Regions from separate parts of the Homo sapiens genome. Here region 2 is linked to region 1. Evidence: promoter capture Hi-C in 16 types of primary human blood cells and fetal thymus (Javierre and others, 2016). All regions are on one chromosome and are shown on one strand. Each heading gives the region's core, a stretch centred on a gene start or on the middle of the fragment in contact. The rest is flanking DNA. Distances are from core to core; before and after follow the strand shown.

Region 1 (4,737 bases), core at 1,677-4,176:
TGCCGTAGTTCAATGCTATTCTTTGAGGGCGAATGTGTCGTGGGTGAACTGCTGTCTAGCCCATTCCGACACCCAAGCCGCCCAGGCGGCCCCCACGCCCCCCGGCTGCAGCCCTCCCTGTACACACAAATGCACACACGCCCAGCCCGGCCGCTGGAGGAACTAAGATGGCAGCGCAGAAAGCACGGGGGCCGAGCTCGGTGGGGTGGGGAAAGAAAAGCAAAGCCCTCTGTGTTTTTTCATTCTGTATAGGTCCCCCTCTTTCCCCAAACACAAGGGCTGCGTAAGGCATTCGGTAGTAGAGCTCGCAGGAGCGGCGGGAGGGGACGCTTGCTTTGCATACTGCCAGAAACCCACGTCTCCGATCTGCAGCGACGGTTCAGGCGACCCTCGCGACTTGTGACCACACTCTCCTTCACGTCCCCTTGACAGTAGAAGTAAGGGTGACTCCAAATGCCTTTTTCTTTCTGGCATGCGCCCCACTCCCCCGCCATCCCAGGGGAGCCTTCCAAGTTGCCCAGCTGCCAAGGCGGTAGCTGTGGCAGTTGCAGGGACCGGGGAGCGCGCCGTGCGGAGGCAGGAAGAGGAGGAGGAGGAGAAAAAACGCTGCACTGGCTATCAATTTTGAGGAGAGCGACCGCTGCCGCTGCCGTGGAAGGAAACGCTGCCAACCGCAACAGAAATGCCACTCTCGGATACCTAAGTGAGCATGTGTGCGACTCTGCGCACGCCTAGTTGCGCAGCTCAATGACATCGGGCTTCTTAGCAAGTTATCCAGTTTCCGGGTTTTGAGTGTACCCATCAGGCTCCGTAGGGGCCTGTCTGGGACTGAACAGCAGTAAAGATTGAAGCGAAATTAATGAATGGTGGGAAGAGCCCGGAGACCAGGGCAGCCACGCGGGTCAATGTCCACTAGAAACTCTAAATGGGCAGTGACTGCACATTCCACCACCTGAGCCTGCGCTGTAAATGTTTTCTGTGCAAGCAACATTCATTCATTCAGCCAACATCTATTTCCCTCCTGTTCAGGGCTAGACCCTGTGCTAGGAGCCTGTGATGGTTGAACAGACACCATTGCTACCCTACGGAAAACCTAGTGTTTTGTTTAGTATGTGCTACCATTTGTGAAAATTCATGTGCCAAGTTGGACATCCTAGATCCTTTAAGTCCTCCCTCAATCTCATGTAGTGGGTATTCTTTTGAGCATTATTCAGAGGAGATAATTTGCCCAAAGCCAGACAAGTATTAAGTAGCAGAGTCAGGATCCAATTCCAGGGCTGTCTGATTTCAGAGCCTTTTAGCTACCCTGCTAGGTCTTGCAATAGTAATGGGCCCTCTCATTGCTTACCTGTCAGGCCTTAGAATTCTTAGAATTTAGCTGCCTCTACACCATTGTCTTGGTTCTCACTCCAGGGTTAGGGGCTGCCTGGTCAACACTGAGGTCTTTAACTGTGCTGAAGCATTAGGATAGAAATTTAGTCTAATAAATACTTACTGGATACCTACTACATGCAAAGTCCTGAAGTGGCTGAAGGAGACACAAAAGCAGCAAGCTCTGAAGGAACTTAGGTAAGGAAACAAGACAAATACAAAAACTTAACAGGGCTAATTACAGTACTAAAATACTATGATTCCACATGTCTTGTCCTTTGTTCCTATGTTTATCCCACTGCTAATTATCTTTAAAAAAACTAAATGAAATCCATCCATTATTTAAAGCTTCAGAAAAAAATGCATTGCTTTCAGCAACCTTCCACCCTAAAACTAGAATTAATTTACTTTCCTATTCCTTGTTGTTTGCACTTCTCAAACACTAAGGAGGATTTTTTAACATTTATTTTATTTTTTTTTAAGAGAAGGCCATCCGAAGAAGAGGCACAGATATAAGAACTAGTACATAGATGAAAGATACAGTACTGGGATGACAGAACTTATAAATTATTTTGTCAGGACTGTAAATTAGGAAACTCTTCAAATTGAGAGTCAAAGGATAAAACGTAGTAGGAATCAAAGTGCATTGGCACGTATATTTCTAGAGCATATACTTAGATGGGGTTCGTAGGTTAGCTTGGAACAAAGGACTGAGCAAATGTTACTTTTTTATAGACAACAACAAGATATGTGATGGATCTGACATTTTCAGACGCTATACAGTCTCCGTCACAATTATTGTTTCAGATCGCATTCAAGAATTATCTTTAAAAATGTAAGTTTGGGCAGAAAAAAATAAACCATTAAATGACCACTGCCAAGAGATAAAAGTGCACTCTTAGGTGAGTGAGGAGTCAATAAAAAAGAGTAATTTAAAAAATATTATTGCTCCGTTGAGAACAAGAATTTGGGAATGACTCTGGCTTGTGAATACTAGCCTATCTGTTATACTTTCACACACAAAATACTTTCACACACAAAAAAGAATGTGCTAGATTACTACCTGTCTTTGTAAGTAAAAGCTGTGTTAAACAAGCGTAAATCCTAATGACAAAAACCATATAAAATAAGATCGCTAAAGGCACTTCTAATTGGGATGGTTTTCTCTGCCTTAAACTCTGAATTAACCAGCACAATTCACAGTAAATCTTCCTGTTGGCAGCAGAGCCTTGGAGAAGAGGTAGCAGAAGAGCGTGCCACTCCTCCTCTGGCGATGGGCACGTTCCCCCTTGCTTTCTGGTCCTCGTTCTTCCACCTGGAGGGAACCTGAAGTCGAACGTCAGTAGCTGACAGCCTCCCCAGCACTTTCCTTACTCTTCTTCAAGCTGCCAGTAAAACCCGGAGAAGTGGACTACTTCAGATTCCGCACAACCCAACAGCCCCAAACCCAAAGCCCCGAGGCGGAGGGAGTGGTGGCGGAGAGGGGGTGGGGAGGAAAAGGGGCGGCAGTTACTGAGCATGTGCGAGGAGTGGCGCATGCTCTGTGAGGCCGGCAGCTTCCCATTGCGGGTAGCCCCGGCGGTGGTGGCGGTGGTAGCGGTGGTGGCGGCGGCAGTGGCGGCACCGCCTCCTCCTCACATTCCCGGGGTGGCGGGGTTAGATGAGCGGCCCCAGTAGCGGCGAGGGCGGCGCGGGGGGGAGGAGGAGAAGAAGGAGGAGGAGAAGGAGGTCGCTGTCTTTGTAGTCTCCCTGCTGCGGGAGCCAGAGGCCGCCGCCGGAGCCGTCGTCGTTGGAAAAGGGCTGTGTGTGCGCGCGCGTGTCTGCCCGCCCGGCCCGCGGGGACGAGGCGGCGGCGGCGGCGGCGGCGGCGAGGATGATGATGTGCGCAGCGACTGCCTCCCCCGCCGCCGCCTCCTCGGGGCTCGGCGGGGACGGATTCTACCCAGCCGCCACCTTCTCTTCCTCCCCGGCGCCGGGGGCGCTGTTCATGCCGGTTCCCGACGGCTCCGTGGCTGCTGCGGGGCTGGGGCTGGGGCTACCCGCCGCGGACTCCCGGGGTCACTACCAGCTGCTGCTGTCAGGCCGGGCCCTGGCCGACCGCTACCGGAGGATTTATACCGCTGCGCTCAATGACAGGGACCAGGGGGGCGGCAGCGCTGGACACCCAGCCTCCAGGTGCGTCCCCAGGGTGCCCTTCCTTGCGCCCCATGCCGCCCTTCCTTGCGCCCCATGCCGCGCGTGCACCCGCGTGTGTGTGTGCTTGCGTGTGTGTACCTGCGCATTTATTGAGCTTTCAGTCCGCTCTGGATGTCTGTTGGCAGGAGCACTTATCGAGATAGGAGGGTGCGGTGGCTGCAGTTTCTCGTGTGTGTGTGTGTGTGTGTGTGTGTGTGTGTGTGTGTGTGTGTCTGCCTGCCTATGTGGGGGGATAGTGAGGGGTGGTAGGGGAACCTGTGATGCTGGAAAAGGCGATGGTGCTGGTCGGCTGTGACACGTGTGTGTATCGTTGAGGTAGGAGGTGGCATGGGTAGAGAGGGTAAGAGGATGATACACGAAGAGAATTGCAACAGTGGCAAGGGAAGTGGCGTTTTCAGTGTCTCTGCCGCAATGTTATTTGCACGTGCCGCCTCTCCCATGACATTCCTTCCAGCCCTTTCCACCTCCCTTCAATCTGCCTTTCACCAAGAGGAGTCATGGTATAGATTGGTTGAGTTTTGGATAAGCAGGCCCGAGGGATAGGCGTGAGGTTTGCTTTAAAAAGATTTATGAATAAGGGACGCAGATGGAGATCTGTGTGGATGCGAAAGGTGTCTGATAGAGATTTTTAGAGCTGTACTTTGATAACCGGGCCTTTTGGTCTTCTAGAAATGAGGTTGCAGTTACTCTTGTGATCTGATGTCCCATCGGCCATTTCTCTTCATCCTCTGTTCGATTTCCTCTGTTACTTACAGGCTTTAGAGTAGAGAGGGTTTTGTAGGGAAAAGGGGAAAACTGCAGAACTTCAGAATATGACAGCTGGTACAGCGTTCAACTGCCACTAGCTAGAAAATCTGAATAGCGCGTAGATTTGTCTCTTTTACTTGGGTTGGCTACACCTTCAGCTTCCTTGATGTAGATGTTCAGTTGGTTTCATTTTCTTTTTCTTAAAATGTGGGTGCTTTTTTTTGCTGAGGGCTCTCCTATTGTTTTCTTTTCCATGCCCTTACATGCCGCATACCCTGAAGGTTGGTGACTGACTTGTTTCACCAGCTTTGACAGTGGTAATTGGGAGTTGGCTTCATCTTTTTTTTCCCACAGCTTCTTGCAGTACATGGGGAAAACATAGTAGGAAACTGTCAAAATGAGTTAAAGAGTTTACTGTTATTT
Region 2 (5,009 bases), core at 1,662-4,161, 260 kb after region 1:
TCAAACTAACCCTATATTTTTACATGTTCTGTGTTAACTTTAAATAGGTGTGTGCTCATATTGTCCAAGCTATTCGCATGGAAGCTACCAGAGTCCGTGAAGAATGGGAACATGCTATATCAAGCAAAGAAAATGCCAATTCTCAGCCAAATGATGAAGATGCCTCCTCTGATGCCTACTGCTTTGAGCTGCTCTCTATGGTTTTAGCACTGAGTGGCTCTAACGTTGGCCGGCAATATCTGGCTCAACAGCTAACCCTGCTTCAGGATCTCTTCTCGCTGCTTCACACAGCCTCTCCTAGAGTCCAGAGACAGGTGACTGATCACACTACAGCCTTTCCATTGCTTTTGTTACTTGAAACATTGTTAAAAGTTGCAATGCAAAGAGAATTATCTAAGGACCCTAAGTATAGATTTTTATTTCGTATTTTGTTATATTTTGTTTGGGGCCTGTATTTTACTCCCTTTTTTACTGTTTATAGTGAGAGTATAGAATAGTAAAATATGTTCCATTTTATTAATGTGTTGTGATAAGAGAGTATTCTGGCTACTGATTACCATATTACCATGAAATATATAATGTCATTTAGCCCTGACCAGAAAGAAAAGGTATTTTTTTTCGTGCTGCCTTGGGTTAGTAATTACCACTACTATTACCATTTGAATAGTATGTATATCATATTTTCTTCCTTCACAAAATGTAAAATAGTGTTTAAATCATATTTCTTTTCTTAAAGATTTTGAAGTTACAGAATGGTAGTTAGGTACATTAAAAAATGAAGCCTGGGATGGGGTACAGTGACTTATGCCTGTAATCCCAGCACTTTGGGAGGCAAAGCTGGGAGGATCCCTTGAGCCTAGGAGTTCAAGGCTGCAGTGAGCTGTGGTTGCTCCACTGCACTCCAACCTGGGCAACAAAGCAAGACCCTGTCTTTAAAAAAAGAAAAGAGAAATAAAAGAAACCTTAAAACATTAGTCTTTACATGGAATTCTCTCATTTTATTTTTCTTACCAGGTAACCTCTTTACTAAGAAGAGTTTTGCCTGAAGTAACCCCTAGTCGTCTGGCCAGCATCATAGGAGTGAAATCCCTCCCCCCAGCAGATATCAGTGATATCATTCACTCAACAGAGAAAGGAGACTGGAATAAGCTGGGTATCTTGGACATGTTTCTAGGATGCATTGCCAAAGCACTCACTGTACAGCTAAAAGCCAAAGGAACCACCATCACTGGAACAGCTGGTACCACTGTGGGCAAAGGAGTTACAACAGTTACTCTTCCGATGATTTTCAATTCCAGGTTAGTTATTGCCTCTATTTTAGTACCAAAACAGAATAGAGTGAGCTACTGTTCAGAAATTTAAGACATAATTTCAGATTTTACCTTGTTAGGTTACTCACCAAATAAAATCCATAAACAACTGGCTAATATCTAAAAAGGTCATGTATATAATAAAAGTGTCATTTATAATTAGTGGGGAATAGAAAGTAGGCTGAATATGTGATGTCAGAATATTTGGATATCCATGTTAAAAAAAATTCTAGATACCTACCTCTCACCATATACAAAATTAAACTTCAGTTTTAGGTAATATGTTTTTTTGCCACAATAAAAAGAAATAAATATGGGGGAATAAAGTAAAGTTCAGGTCAACTAAAGCTTTATGTACATTTCTTTTTAAAACTGTACTGGGACAAATTATAGAAGAATATTTTTGTAATCTTCAATTTGATAAGACCTTCTTAAACAAAACACAGAACCCAAAATCATATAGGAAGATATTTATAGATTTGACTATATAAAAATGAAAATTACTTGATAGGTGATAATATTTAAATGTTTTAAAATATAGGGAAATAACTTAGAAAAATACTTAAACCTATATAATAGACAATGACTTGTTAGCATAATATAGAAGTATGACTACAAATCAATTTTAAAAAGGCAAACAACTGATAAGAATAATAAATGACAAGAACAGTCAGTTCACAGAAAAAAACTTATAAATGCCAGTAGTCAGTTCACAGAAAAAAACTTATAAATGCCAGTAAACAAATGAAAACACCTCACTACTAATCAGAGAAATGTAGATTAAAATAATTGCAAAATATCTTTGATGCTTTGGCAACATTATGAGGAAATAGGCATTTTCATCTCATATAAATTGCTGCAGCCTTTTTGGATATCTGTTTATAATATCTAACTATATTTTAAATATGCATATCTTTTGACCTACCAATTCTACTTCTAAAACTTTCATGCATTTGCACCAAGGTATATATGCAAGGATGTTCTGTAATTGTGTGTAACAGTAGAGAATTAGAGACATCTGAACAGTGCTACTTGTAGAGCCAATCCATGACAATATGCAGATAACATCAGAATGTTAATCATTGTATCACTTCTTTCCTGTAGTCTTGCTAGGAAAAAAGTCAGCTGAACTAAATAGTAGTGTGCTTAGTGATACAGTGAATTTATATTCCGGTTAAGCTCCACATTATCCGCATGTGCCCTAGAAATAAGTCGTGTGTGGTCCCTGGACTGTACTTCTAAAAGATGCACACAGAAATAATGTGCAAACAGAGAAATACTTGAAAGGGAACTCAAATAACCTTAACTGCTGTCTTGGGATTTGGGGTAATGGTTTGATGAATTTTCTTTTTAAATGTTTTAATTGATTCAGTCACTTAAAAATCTAAAATGCTGCATTCTGAAATAACATTTTCATCTTTTTCATTTGTTACTACTACTGATAATTTATTGGCTTTTTAAGTGCTAATTTTTCTTGTAGTTATCTCCGACGAGGTGAAAGTCATTGGTGGATGAAGGGCTCAACCCCTACCCAGATCTCAGAGATCATCATTAAACTTATCAAGGATATGGCAGCAGTAAGTTCCCATTCTTCTGTTTTGGCAGTGAAGTGCGGCAGGAAGCTGACACAAAACAGCTTACTCTGCTGAATTGATAGGAGATGTAGATTAGTGTAACTTTACTTAAAGACTATTTGTAGTATGTTAACTATCATGCTGTTTGTCTTTTCAGTGAGTGATAATTTGTCATTTATGTAAACCATGTTCATTTCAAATTTTCCAGTTAATTTGTGTGGGAATTGTTACGTGACTTTAAAATCTAATAAAATAAAATATGCTCTTTCAGACCCTAAGAAAGAACTTGATTCAAAAAACCTAAAGGAAAAAAAGAGGAAGAGAGCTCTCGAAAGTGGAAGTTTCTCATTCTCCTCAGTCCTCATGGTTTTTAAACCCTTTATTCTTCTTTATTAATGTCATATACCCTCTGTCTTAAGATGGTGGCTTCCAAAGGAGATCTGGGAGTGTGGAGGACAGGGAGTTACTTTACAGAATGCCTGGCTCTGATTAGTTGCTCCTTGTCATTTTCCACACATTGTATTATTTCTAGGAGGGCAGCCTGAGAAGGACAAGATAGTATGGAATGTAGAGTCAGAAGGAATAGAAGGCAGCTTGGAGAAGGAGGAGGAATTGAACTGCCCCTTAAATCATGTGGATATGAGAAGTGGGAGGATTTTCTGGGGGAAAGATGAAGTTCTATCACTTTTCCCAACAGCGTGGATATTTTCTCAACCTCTGTGGCAAACAGACTTTCTCAGGGTGTTCATTGAATTAAAATATTTAGGAGTAATATTTAGGAACACCTAAATTATATGATAGTTAAATGTTTGTTCATTACAAATCAAGGTAGCAAATAAAGGTAGTTGCAGTTTGAACCTGTTTATATTTTAGGTTCCTGTAATACTCATCTAAAGCAGTTAGCTTCACTGTGTAAATTTTATGCTAAGTGACAAACTTCTCAAACATAGATAACCTTAGTATTTCTGTTATGTTTTTATCAGATGTGAGAGTAATTGCCCTTGATTTCCAGGAAAAGAGTATTGAGAACTTAATTTTTTATTTATTTATTTTTAAATATCAAAATGATGATTAGAAGTTGAATTTTCCATAGGATCACGAAGAAATTTTAGTTCAAAAGTTTGTGCCCATAATCTAAAATTCCATGGTCTCACTAAAAACAAATATTTCCTTTGATAGGAGATGTTATTTAAGAAAAAAGAGTTTACTATGGTAATACATTTCTGGTCACTTATTAAAATACTCTGTTCTGCTCAATAGGGTCATCTGTCAGAAGCTTGGTCCCGAGTGACAAAAAATGCTATTGCAGAAACCATCATTGCCTTGACCAAGATGGAAGAAGAATTTAGGTCTCCAGTGAGATGTATTGCAACAACTAGAGTAGGTTTTGCTTTGTTTTGTTTTGTTTTAAATTTGGTGTGTATCATTGCGTGTTCTTTTTTAGTAATAGATTTAAACAAATTTTAATCACTAAGTCAACATAATTATTTTTTAACCAAATACCGTATTTATTGAAAAAGTATAAAGGGCTTTTATATTATGAACTAGTCGTTACTTCTCACTGTTATGTGTTCTGTGTCACTTGTTTTTGTTATTGTTTAGGAAGCCAAGGGTACACTGGTTAGAAAAGGCTAATTACATTGTACATTGTTTGCGTGTTGTCTTTCTAATGATCTGTTTGCTGTAGTTTACCACAGTAAGTTTAGTGCCAGCATTATGCTGTGATAGACCGAAGGTCCTTTGGAGACAAGACCCCTGCCTATGCCTGGTTGTTCCTAATGTAGAGCCCTGTAACTTACTTACAGGATTTATAGGTCTTACTTCTAAAAAGCAAGAAGTGCTTGTCCAGGGCAGGGTCAGGGTGGAAATCTTTGAGGAAATGAGATTGCATTCTTCAGATGACACATTTATAGTAAGTTTTAACCTGCTAGATTTCATGTCCCATATACTTCCAGAAGAGATTTGAGATTTCCTTGAAGGAGGGCAGTCTGACAACGTTAGGAAGAAGTGAATGCTGGTAAAAATTGCTTAGGTTAATCCTCAGAAATCTGAAGAAGATAAACTATATATCCCTAGGGCGGAAAAAGTCAATTTATGCTATCTTGCTATTATTGACTGTGACACC

The links. Contacts are between HindIII fragments. The CHiCAGO score rates a contact against its expected background, and 5 or more counts as called.
Region 2: a fragment that was not itself captured here is called in contact with the fragment with the promoter of MYCBP2 in region 1 in 4 of 17 cell types (total B cells, naive B cells, fetal thymus and 1 more); the score reaches 8.8 in total B cells.

Annotation. Positions count from the first base shown.
Region 1 is chr13:77,325,283-77,330,019 of GRCh38, reverse strand. It overlaps MYCBP2 (MYC binding protein 2), which reads left to right and starts at 2,926. Exons shown (of 83, transcript NM_015057.5): 1 at 2,926-3,546. The coding sequence starts at 3,245. LOC127898562 reads left to right here and starts at 3,032. Exons shown (of 1, transcript NM_001414702.1): 1 at 3,032-3,115. The coding sequence starts at 3,032. The coding sequence ends at 3,115. It overlaps LOC107984564 (a long non-coding RNA gene), which reads right to left and starts at 2,975. Exons shown (of 2, transcript XR_001749930.2): 1 at 2,885-2,975; 2 at 1,822-2,756. RefSeq lists enhancers at 346-425, 2,447-2,776, 4,447-4,626 and silencers at 2,967-3,346, 3,387-3,506. The HindIII fragment of the contact is 13,146 bases long and covers 1,722-4,737 here.
Region 2 is chr13:77,063,870-77,068,878 of GRCh38, reverse strand. MYCBP2 (MYC binding protein 2) reads left to right here. Exons shown (of 83, transcript NM_015057.5): 70 at 48-314; 71 at 1,015-1,298; 72 at 2,791-2,887; 73 at 4,145-4,264. Among named protein-coding and RNA genes, the nearest start is that of MYCBP2-AS1, 9.1 kb to the left of the region's middle. The HindIII fragment of the contact is 2,502 bases long and covers 1,661-4,162 here.